Linked DNA regions of Homo sapiens: region 2 is linked to region 1. Evidence: promoter capture Hi-C in human tissues and cell types (Jung and others, 2019). All regions are on one chromosome and are shown on one strand. Each heading gives the region's core, a stretch centred on a gene start or on the middle of the fragment in contact. The rest is flanking DNA. Distances are from core to core; before and after follow the strand shown. Region 1 holds the start of TMIGD2 (transmembrane and immunoglobulin domain containing 2). Region 2 overlaps UBXN6 (UBX domain protein 6).

Evidence for each region. Contacts are between HindIII fragments. The study calls those that stand out against the background at their distance.
Region 2: a contact is called between a fragment that was not itself captured here and the fragment with the promoter of TMIGD2 in region 1, in 1 of the 25 tissues and cell types used here (dorsolateral prefrontal cortex).

Annotation. Positions count from the first base shown.
Region 1 is chr19:4,299,564-4,304,088 of GRCh38, reverse strand. TMIGD2 (transmembrane and immunoglobulin domain containing 2) reads left to right here and starts at 1,700. Exons shown (of 5, transcript NM_001169126.2): 1 at 1,700-1,749. The coding sequence starts at 1,704. RefSeq lists an enhancer at 1,694-2,239. The HindIII fragment of the contact is 29,023 bases long and covers 1-4,525 here.
Region 2 is chr19:4,447,087-4,451,611 of GRCh38, reverse strand. It overlaps UBXN6 (UBX domain protein 6), which reads left to right. Exons shown (of 11, transcript NM_025241.3): 5 at 3,197-3,294; 6 at 3,987-4,062. It also overlaps a transcript of CHAF1A not described here. Among named protein-coding and RNA genes, the nearest start is that of MIR4746, 3.4 kb to the right of the region's middle. The HindIII fragment of the contact is 5,827 bases long and covers 1-4,525 here.

The DNA.
Region 1 (4,525 bases), core at 451-2,950:
GAGCTTCAGAATGTTCTGGGGAGGGGAAGGAGTGGGTAGGGGAGGCTGGGCGGGTGTACGTGTCTGCAGGGGAGGTGCAGGCATAGCCACCGCAGAACCTCCCTGTGGTGGAGGGGAACGCTGTGTACGATGCAGGCCTTCTAGGTCCGAGTGAGAAAGGAGGTCACTCTGCAGTTGGGTCTGAGACATTGAGGTCTGTGGGTTCGCCACCTCCTCCCAGAATGCACTACAGAATCAGGGGTGAGGGATGCAGGGCTGGGAGGAACTCGAGAGCCCATGAACCTCCTCCACGGGACCCCCAAGCAGGTCATGTAATAGGACCCAAAGTTATCAACAGAAATCTATTTCTCTGAACCTCAAAGGAAGATTTTTTAAATTATTATTATTATTTTTTTTTAGAGACGGACTCACTCTGTTGCCCAGGCTGGAGTAACGGGGCGCAATCATGGCTTACTGCAGCCTCCAACTCCTGGGCTCAAGCGGTTCTCCTGCCTCAGCCTCCCGAGTGGCTGGGACTATAGGCATGCACCATCACCCTGGGTTGGTTTTGTATCTTTTTTTTTTTTTTTGAGACACAGTCTCACTCTGTCGCCCAGGCTGGAGTGCAGTGGCAGGATCTCGGCTCCCTGTAATCTCCATCTCCCCAGTTCTGGCGATTCTCCTGCCTCAACCCCACTGAGTAGCTGGGACTACAGGCGCCCACCACTAGGCCCAGCTAATTTTTGTATTTTTAGTAGAGACCGGGTTTTGCCATGTTGGCTAGGCTGGTCTTGAACTCCTGACCTCAGGTGATCCACCCGCCTTGGCCTCCCAAAGTGCTGGGATTACAGGCCTGGGCCACCATGCCCAGCCTGTATCTTTTTTTTTTTTTTTTTTTTTTTAATAGAGATTGGATCTCGCTGTGTTACCCCAGGTTGATCTTAAACTCGGCTCAAGTGATCCTCCCACCTCAGCCTCACAAAGTGCTGGGATTACAGGTGTGAGCTACAGCGCCCAGCAAAAGAAAGACATTTTGGGAGCAAAATAATTGAGGCAGGGACCCTGTCATTTAACTCACTGCTCAGGCCTATGTCGCCTGCCCCTCCCCCACGGAGCCACCTGCTCTCGCACTGTGTCTTCCTGTACCTAGATGTGTTTATGTAGAGCCTTCCAGAAAGCTCACAGGGGTGGATTCCTCCCACTCACTTGCATACACTGCCTTTCTTTTCTTTTTTTCTGAGACGGAGTTTCACTCTTGTCGCCCAGGCTGGAGTGCAGTGGCGTGATCTTGGCTCACTGCAACCTCCGCCTCCCGGGTTTAAGCCATTCTCCTGCCTCAGCCTCCCAAGTAGCTGGGATTATAGGCGCCCATCACCATGTCCAGCTAATTTCTGTATTTTTAGTAGAAATTAGTAGGGGTTTCATCATGTTGGCCAAGCTGGTCTCGAACTCCTGACCTCAGGTGATCCACCTGCCTCGGCCTCCCAAAGTGCTGGGATTACAGACATGAGCCATGTTGCCTGGTCCGTACACTGCCTTTCAGATAGAAAATGCATTGGGGAAACTGAGGCACGAGGTGGCAGGAAGTGGAGCCCCCAGCAGGCTGGAACACCGGACGTCTGTTGTCTGGCCCTGGGTGTTGCATCTGCTTCTGCAGCGGGAGGCGGAGATTGTGGCAGGAAGTCTGTCAACTGGGAGGGGGAGAGGGGGGTGATGGGCCAGGAATGGGGTCCCCGGGCATGGTGCTGGGCCTCCTGGTGCAGATCTGGGGTGAGTATCTGGGCCTCCCTCCCCTCTGAACCCCACTCTTGCTGTCATCCCCAGCTGCCTGCCCCCCAGCTCAGGGCCCCTCTAAACTTCAGTCTCTCTACTGTCAGATAAGGCCCATCTCCCTCCGAGACTCAGAACGTGATGGGGGCTGGAGGATTAAGGAAGGATCCTCTGAGGGCCCCTAGGATACAATCTAAACCTTGCCCTACATACCAGCCTGGCCTGGCCTCTCTCATCTCCACCCTCCGCAGTGCCTTTGCTCCCTCCCTCTTGCTCTAGCCTGGGGACTTTTCTTTCTCTGTTTCCGCAATGGGAAGGCTGGATCTGGCCTTCGAGCCTTTGCACCTGCTGTTCCAGCTGCCTAATACCCTTCTCCAGATCTCATGTCTCTACCCTCCTCTGCAATTGCATCTCAAATGCCAGGAACTTCACATAACCTCAACTTCTCCGGGGGTCTAACAGACACGTCAGACTTCTCACAGCTAAAAGCAGACTTTCTACTCCGGCAGCAGCTCCCTCTGTGTTTCCAATTAAGGACAAAGGCTGCTGCCCTTCACACATTTCCTGGGGCGAAAACCTCCATTCCTCTTTCCCTCTCCTCTGATTCCAGCCGCTTGCACTTTTTTGTTGTTCATTTGTGTTTTTTTGTTTGTTTGTTTTGTTTTGTTTTGAGAAGGAGTCTTGCTCTGTCACCCAGGCTAGAGTGCAGTGACGCGATCTCGGTTGACTGCAACCTCTGCCTCCCAGGTTCAAGAGATTCTCCTGCCTCAGGCTCCCGAGTAGCTGGGACTGCAGGCGCGCGCCACTGCGCCTGGCTAATTTTTTTTGTATTTTTAGTAGAGACGGGGTTTCGCCATCTCGGCCAGGTGGGTCTCGAACTCCTGACCTCATGATCCACCCACCTTGGCCTCCCAAAGTGCTGGGATTACAGGCGTGAGCCACCGTGCCCAGTCATTTTTGTTTTTTAGAGATGGGTCTCACTATGTTGCCCAGGCTGGTCTTGAACTCCTGGCCTCAAGCAATCACCCAGTCTTGGCCACCCAAAGGGCTGGGATAACAGGCATGAGCCACCACACCCAACCAAGGTCTTTTTATTAAAACTTAAATTGGAGACTGAGGCAGGTGGATCACTTGAGGTCAGGAGTTCCAGACCAGCCTGGCCATGTTGGTGAAACCCCATCTCTACCAAAAATACAAAAATTAGCTGGGCGTGGTAGCGAGTGCCTGTAGTCCCAGCTACTCAAGAGGCTGAGCCACAAGAATCACTTGAACCTGGGAGGCAGAGGTTGCAATGAGCCGAGATCACACCACTGCACTCCCACCTGGGCAACAGAGTGAGACCCCATCTCAAAACAAAAACAAAAACAAAAACAAAAACTTCAATTGGACTATTTCTTCCCTGCTTTCTGATTTTCCATCACACTTACATTAAAACATAAACTGCTTAACTTCCTTCACCTCCCCACACCACCCCAAGGCTCACAGGCCCTGCCCAACCCTTCCTCCCTCTCTCCCTGTCCTCACTCTGCTCCAGCCACACGGGCCTCCTCGCTGTTCCTCCAACACGCCAGGCACAGTCCTGCCCCAGGGCCTTTGCATGGGCTGTGCACTGCCTGGAATGCTCTTACCCCCCAATACCTTCCTTCTCACACTGGTTATACCTTTCCATTAAGATCCCTGGTCAGGCTGAGCACAGTGGCATGTACTTGTAACACCAGTAATTTGGGAGGCTGAGGTGGGAGGATCACATGAGCCCAGGAATGTTTTGTTTTGTTTTTTATTTTGAGACACAGTCTCGCTCTGTCGCCAGGCTGGAGTGCAGTGGCGCGATCTCAGCTCACTGCAACCTCCGCCTCCCGGGTTCAAGTGATTCTCCCGCCTCAGCCTCCCGAGTAGCTGGGACTACGGGTACATGCCACCACACCCAGCTAATTTTTGTATTTTTAGTAGAGACGGGGTTTCACCATGTTGGGCAGGATGGTCTTGATCTCCTGACCTCGTGATCCGCCCGCCTCTGCCTCCCAAAGTGCTGGGATTATAGGCGTGAGCCACTGCACCCGGCCTTGTTTTGTTTTGTTTGAGACAGAGCCTCGCTCTGTCACCCAGGCTGGAGTGCAGTGGCACGATCTCAGGTCACTGCAACCTCCACCTCCCGGGTTCAAGCGATTCTCCTGCCTCAGCCTCCCAAGTAGCTGGGATTACAGGCACCCGCCACCATGCCCAGCTAATTTTTGTAGTTTAAGTAGAGACAGGGTTTCACCATGTTGGCCAGGCTGGTCTTGAACTCCTGACCTCAGGTGATCCACCCGCCTCGGCCTCCCAAAGTGCTGGGATTACAGGCGTGAGCCACTGCACCCGGCCCATGAACCCAGGAGGTTGATCCTGCAGTGAGCTATGAAGGTGCCACTGCACTCCAGACTGGGCAATAGAATGAGATGGAGTCTTTTTTTCTTTGCTATGGAGTCTCGCTCTGTTGCCCAAGCTAGAGTGCAGTGGCAGGGTCTCAGCTCACTGCAACCTCTGCCTCTCGGATTCAAGTGATTCTCCTGCCTCAGCCTCCCATGTAGCTGGGATTCCAGGAGCCCGCCACCACACTGGCTAATTTTTGTATTTTTAGTAGAGATGGAGTTTCACCACGTTGGCCAGACGGGTCTCGAACTCCTGACCTCAGGTGATCCACCGGCCTTGACTTCCCAAAGTACAGGGATTACAGGCATGAGTCACAGCACCCAGCCCATGAGCCCAAGCGGCTGAGGCTGCAATGAACTTTGATGGT
Region 2 (4,525 bases), core at 535-3,034, 150 kb before region 1:
TCCTCACTTAACACCATCAATAGGTTCTCAGAAACTTCGGCTTTAGCCTGGGCAACATGGCAAAACCCTGTCTCTGCCAAAAACAAAAAAAAATAGCTGGGCATGGTGGCGTGCACCTGCAGTCCCTGCTACTCAGAAGGCTGAGGTGGGAGGATTGCTTCAGCCTGGGAGGTAGAGGCTGCAGTGAGCTGTAATCATGCCACTGCACACCAGCCTGGGTGACAAGTGAGACCCTTTCTCAGAAAATAGTAAGTGGCTGGGCGCGGTGGCTCTTGCCTGTAATTCCAGTGCTTTGGGAGGCTGAGGCAGGTGGATCACCTGAGGTCAGAAGTTCCAAGACCAGCCTGGTCAACATAGTGAAACCCCCTATCTACTAAATATACAAAAATTAGCCAGGCGTGGTGACAGGCGCCTGTAATCCCAGCTACTCAGGAGACTGAGGCAGGAGAATCGCTTGAACCTGGGAGGTGGAGGTTGCAGTGAGCCCAGATCACGCCATTGAGCTCCAGCGTGGACACTGGGTGACAAGAGCGAAACTTCATCTTAAAAACAAAACAAAACAAAATAGTAATAGTTCCATAGACTCTCCAGACTCACACCCACTCCAGCAGTGTGTGCAAAAGCACCCGTGTCCCCATCCTCTCACCATACTGTAAATCACCAAACTTTGATCTTTACGCCTGTTGGTAGGTGAAAATAACATCTCAGGATAGAGTTAATTTGCACTTTCCTTATTTTGGATTGGCCATGTTTCATATGAGAATGCGTCCTTTCTACATTATTTAGTAGATAGTTTGTCTTTTTATTAGTGATTTGTAGGCACTCTTTTTTTTTTTTTTTTTTTTTTTTTTTTGAGACAGAGTCTCGCTCTGTCGCCCAGGCTGGAGTGCAGTGGCGCCATCTCTGCTCACTGCAAGCTCCGCCTACGAGGTTCACACCATTCTCCTGCCTCAGCCTCCCGAGTAGCTGGGACCACAGGCGAACCGCCACCACGCCCAGCTGATTCTTTGTATTTTTAGTAGAGACGGGGTTTCACCATGTTAGCCAGGATGGTCTCGATCTCCTGACCTCGTGATCCGCCCGCCTCGGCCTCCCAAAGTGCTGGGATTACAGGCGGGAGCCACCGTGCCCGGCAGCACTCTTTACATATTAGGCAATTTAGGCTTTTGCCTATGATATGAGTTGCACATGTTTCCCTCTAGTTGCTTCTATGTTGGCTCTGCTTATGGTCACTTTGCTGTGTAGGATTTTTTGATCTCTGTATAATTAAATGTGTCAGTTTTAGTTCATGGCTTTTGGGTTTGGGGTCATTCTTAGAAATGCCTTCCCCATTTCCATGCTGAGAGAATTCTTTTGTGGCCTCTCCAGTGCTTTTTTTTTTTTTTTTTTTGAGACAGAGTCTTGCTGTCACCAGGCTGGAGTGCAGTGGTGCAATCTCAGCTCACTGCAACCTCTGCTTCCCGGGTTCAAGCAATTCACCTGCCTCAGCCTCCCAAGTAGCTGGGACTACAGGTGCACGCCACCACACCCGGGCTAACTTTTGTATTTTAGAGATGAGGTTTCACCATGTTGGCCGGGATGGTCTCGCTCTCCTAATCTCGTGATCCGACCGCCTCGGCCTCCCAAAGTGCTGGGATTCCAGGCATGAGCCACCGTGCCCGGCCTCCAGAGCTTTTCTTCTGGCTTCTCCTTGACTGCTTGCTTGTTTCCATGGTTGAAGCTTTGATCCAGCTGGAGCATGTTATTATGTAACATGGTGGGATGGAGCTGATGTAATTTTTTTTTTAGATCTTGGCTCAGCTTTCTTCTCAGCCCCACCTGTCGAGAGCACCTGTCTTTTGCTTACAGCTGTGAAATCCCACCTTTCTCACAAAGTACATTCCTGTATGGATTTGGACCCCTTCCTGGCTGCTGTTCCTTCGTCCCTTGTCTGTGCATGTACCCAGCTCCTGACCTAAGCCTGGCAGCCAGTCGCCCAAAACGCCCGAGGCCCGCTTTTGGAGCTGACACGCTTCCCTTGGCTGGTGTGCTGTCCCGGGCGCTCTGATCCCAAGGAAGCTGTTGTCTTGGGGACATGCCCATCTGGCAGCTCTGCCTCTCTGCATCCACGTGCTCTGTCCCGCTCCCCACATCATCTCAGCAACTAAACCGGCAGACTGGGCCGGGTCCCAATTTTCAGTTGGCATGAGCCCCGGCTCAGTGTGTAGGTCATTGGTCCGTGTGACGCAGGGGGCTGCTGAGGGACCCTGCTGTGCAGTTGAGGGTGGGGGGTGGTGGGTGGAGCTCTGGGCTGCCTGGGCAGGTGGCCCGAATCCTGACACATGGCCCTGGGCTGCCCTTCTGTTCACCCGCCCTCGTCTGGGCAGCCCAGGGAGGTGCGGGTGGCAGCCCTGCTTCCCAGGCCATGGGTGGCTCTCTGGGTGTGGCCGTGTGTGATGGCTGTGCCGAGCGTGGATTTGTGCCCCAATCTTTTCCAGGTCTTAGGGTACGTACTGTTCTCAGCCTCTCCATGCTGGGACGCTGTTCGCAGTCAGCAGGGCTGGTTCTGGGAAACCCCCAGAGTTCCAGCTATGACTTCTCCCCTCCCCCGGTAACATAGGTGGATAGGTGGGACCTCGGGGAGGGGCAGGGGCTGGGGGTATCCGTCTTCCAGCTATTGAGTTTCAGACATTGAGGGTTGCAGACTCATTTGTGTCCTCTCTGCCACCTGCCATCCCTGTGACCCTGGACGATGGGCCTCTCGGTCTCTTTGTAAACATGAGGCCCGGGAGTGGTTCCAGAACGTCCATCATGGGGCTGCGAGAGCAGGAGGGATGGGGCGTCCATGGTGGCGGGAGGTTCTGTAAGTGGCGGTGGCCTTGATGGATCTCAGCACTGAGGTCGAGTTCTAAAGCCAGAGTGTGAGGCACAGTTCTGTCGCGTCACACTGGCTTCCAAGTCCCATGGATCTAGCCTTGAGAAGGCGGAAGGGGAGACTTGAGTTCTGCTGGGTCTTGGCTGCGTCGCCTCTGCCCTGGGGCGTGGGCAGGGCTGCGGTCTTGGAGGGTCTCTCTTTTCCTTTCTGTGATGAGCGCACAGCTGGGGCCGCTCCAAGCCGCTGTTCTGCCTTCCTTTTCCTGCCCCTGTTACCTGGGCAGCGGAGGGCCGTGCGGCCCGGGCTCTCAGTGAGTGGCTTTCCCTGCTTCCCTCCTCCCAGCACTTCTCCACCGACCCAGTGGCCGCCTCCATCATGAAGATCTACACGTTCAACAAAGACCAGGACCGGGTGAAGCTGGGTGTGGACACCATTGCCAAGTGAGCGTGTGGCCCCTTTGCCCTGCCTGGCCCCTCCAGCTCATCCCAGCACCCCTCCCACTGGGGCTGTCACCCCCTCTGGCCCCCTCATTACCTGCTGAGGTGGGTTGGGAAGGAGCATAGGCCGAGAGTGAGGCAGCTCCACCCAGAGGCCTCAGGCAAAGGGCTGGGCCTCCTTGGGCCTCAGTTTACCCGTGTGCAAAATGAAGGTGTTGAAGGAATCAGGGGTTTCCCACCCTGGCTTCCTTGGGGAACATGTGGAGGAGGCAGGGTCCCACCCCACTCCCCGGGTCTCAGGATCGGGGGCAGGCCTGGAGGTCCACGCTGCCCGCCAACGCCGAGGGAGCACCCCGCAGGAGCCCCCTGCTGGCACTGCGGCCCTTCAGCTCTGGCTCTCCACTCTTCCGGCACTGTGGCTTCCCCACCGCTGTGGTTAATTGTGCCCTTCCAGGGCTGGTGGGACGGTGAGGGGTTCCGTGGGGCTCCTGCTGGCACCAGGGGTGGGCTCCATGGGGTGTCCGAGGTGTGCCTTCCACCCGGAGATGGTCTGCTGCCCTCGCGTCACTGGGCCGCTTCTTCCCTCTGACTAGAGGCCAAGTGTGGCTGAGCTGCTGTTACCTGGAGCAGGAGGCACAGAGGGGCCGGGTGGGCAGCCTGGGCTGTGCCCCACTCACCTTCTCCACCTACCCCAGGTACCTGGACAACATCCACCTGCACCCCGAGGAGGAGAAGTACCGGAAGATCAAGCTGCAGAACAAGGTGTTTCAGGTGGGCGTGCCTTCTGGCCCCCGGGGCCCAGGCTGGGGGTGGGGGCAGCTGGCCTGCAGGAGCCGGTGGTGGCCCACACCAGGCGGTGGGCTCCCTGGAGGAGCTAGCGAGAGTTGAGCCACAAGCAGTGAAGGGTTCGGCCAGTAGAAGGTAGCAGGACAAGATGGAGAGCAAGACTTTTATGCACCGGTCACCCCAAATCAACAAATTCTGCCTCTCCTCACCTGCATCCTTTTCCTCCTCTTCAGCTGGGCTTGTTTGGGAACATGTCGACTCTGGGGAGGTTTCTCATGCAAACCAGATGTCTGGTTCTTCTGGGGGAAAGGGCAGGGACTGGGGTCCTGGGCGGTGTTAGCCTCGCATCAGGCCCCAGCAGTGTCTGGCTCCTCAGCCTCACTCTTCGTGCCTGGTTGTGACTCTTTCCTCTGTGCAGAGCTGTTGGAGACTCCACAGCCCCCACCGT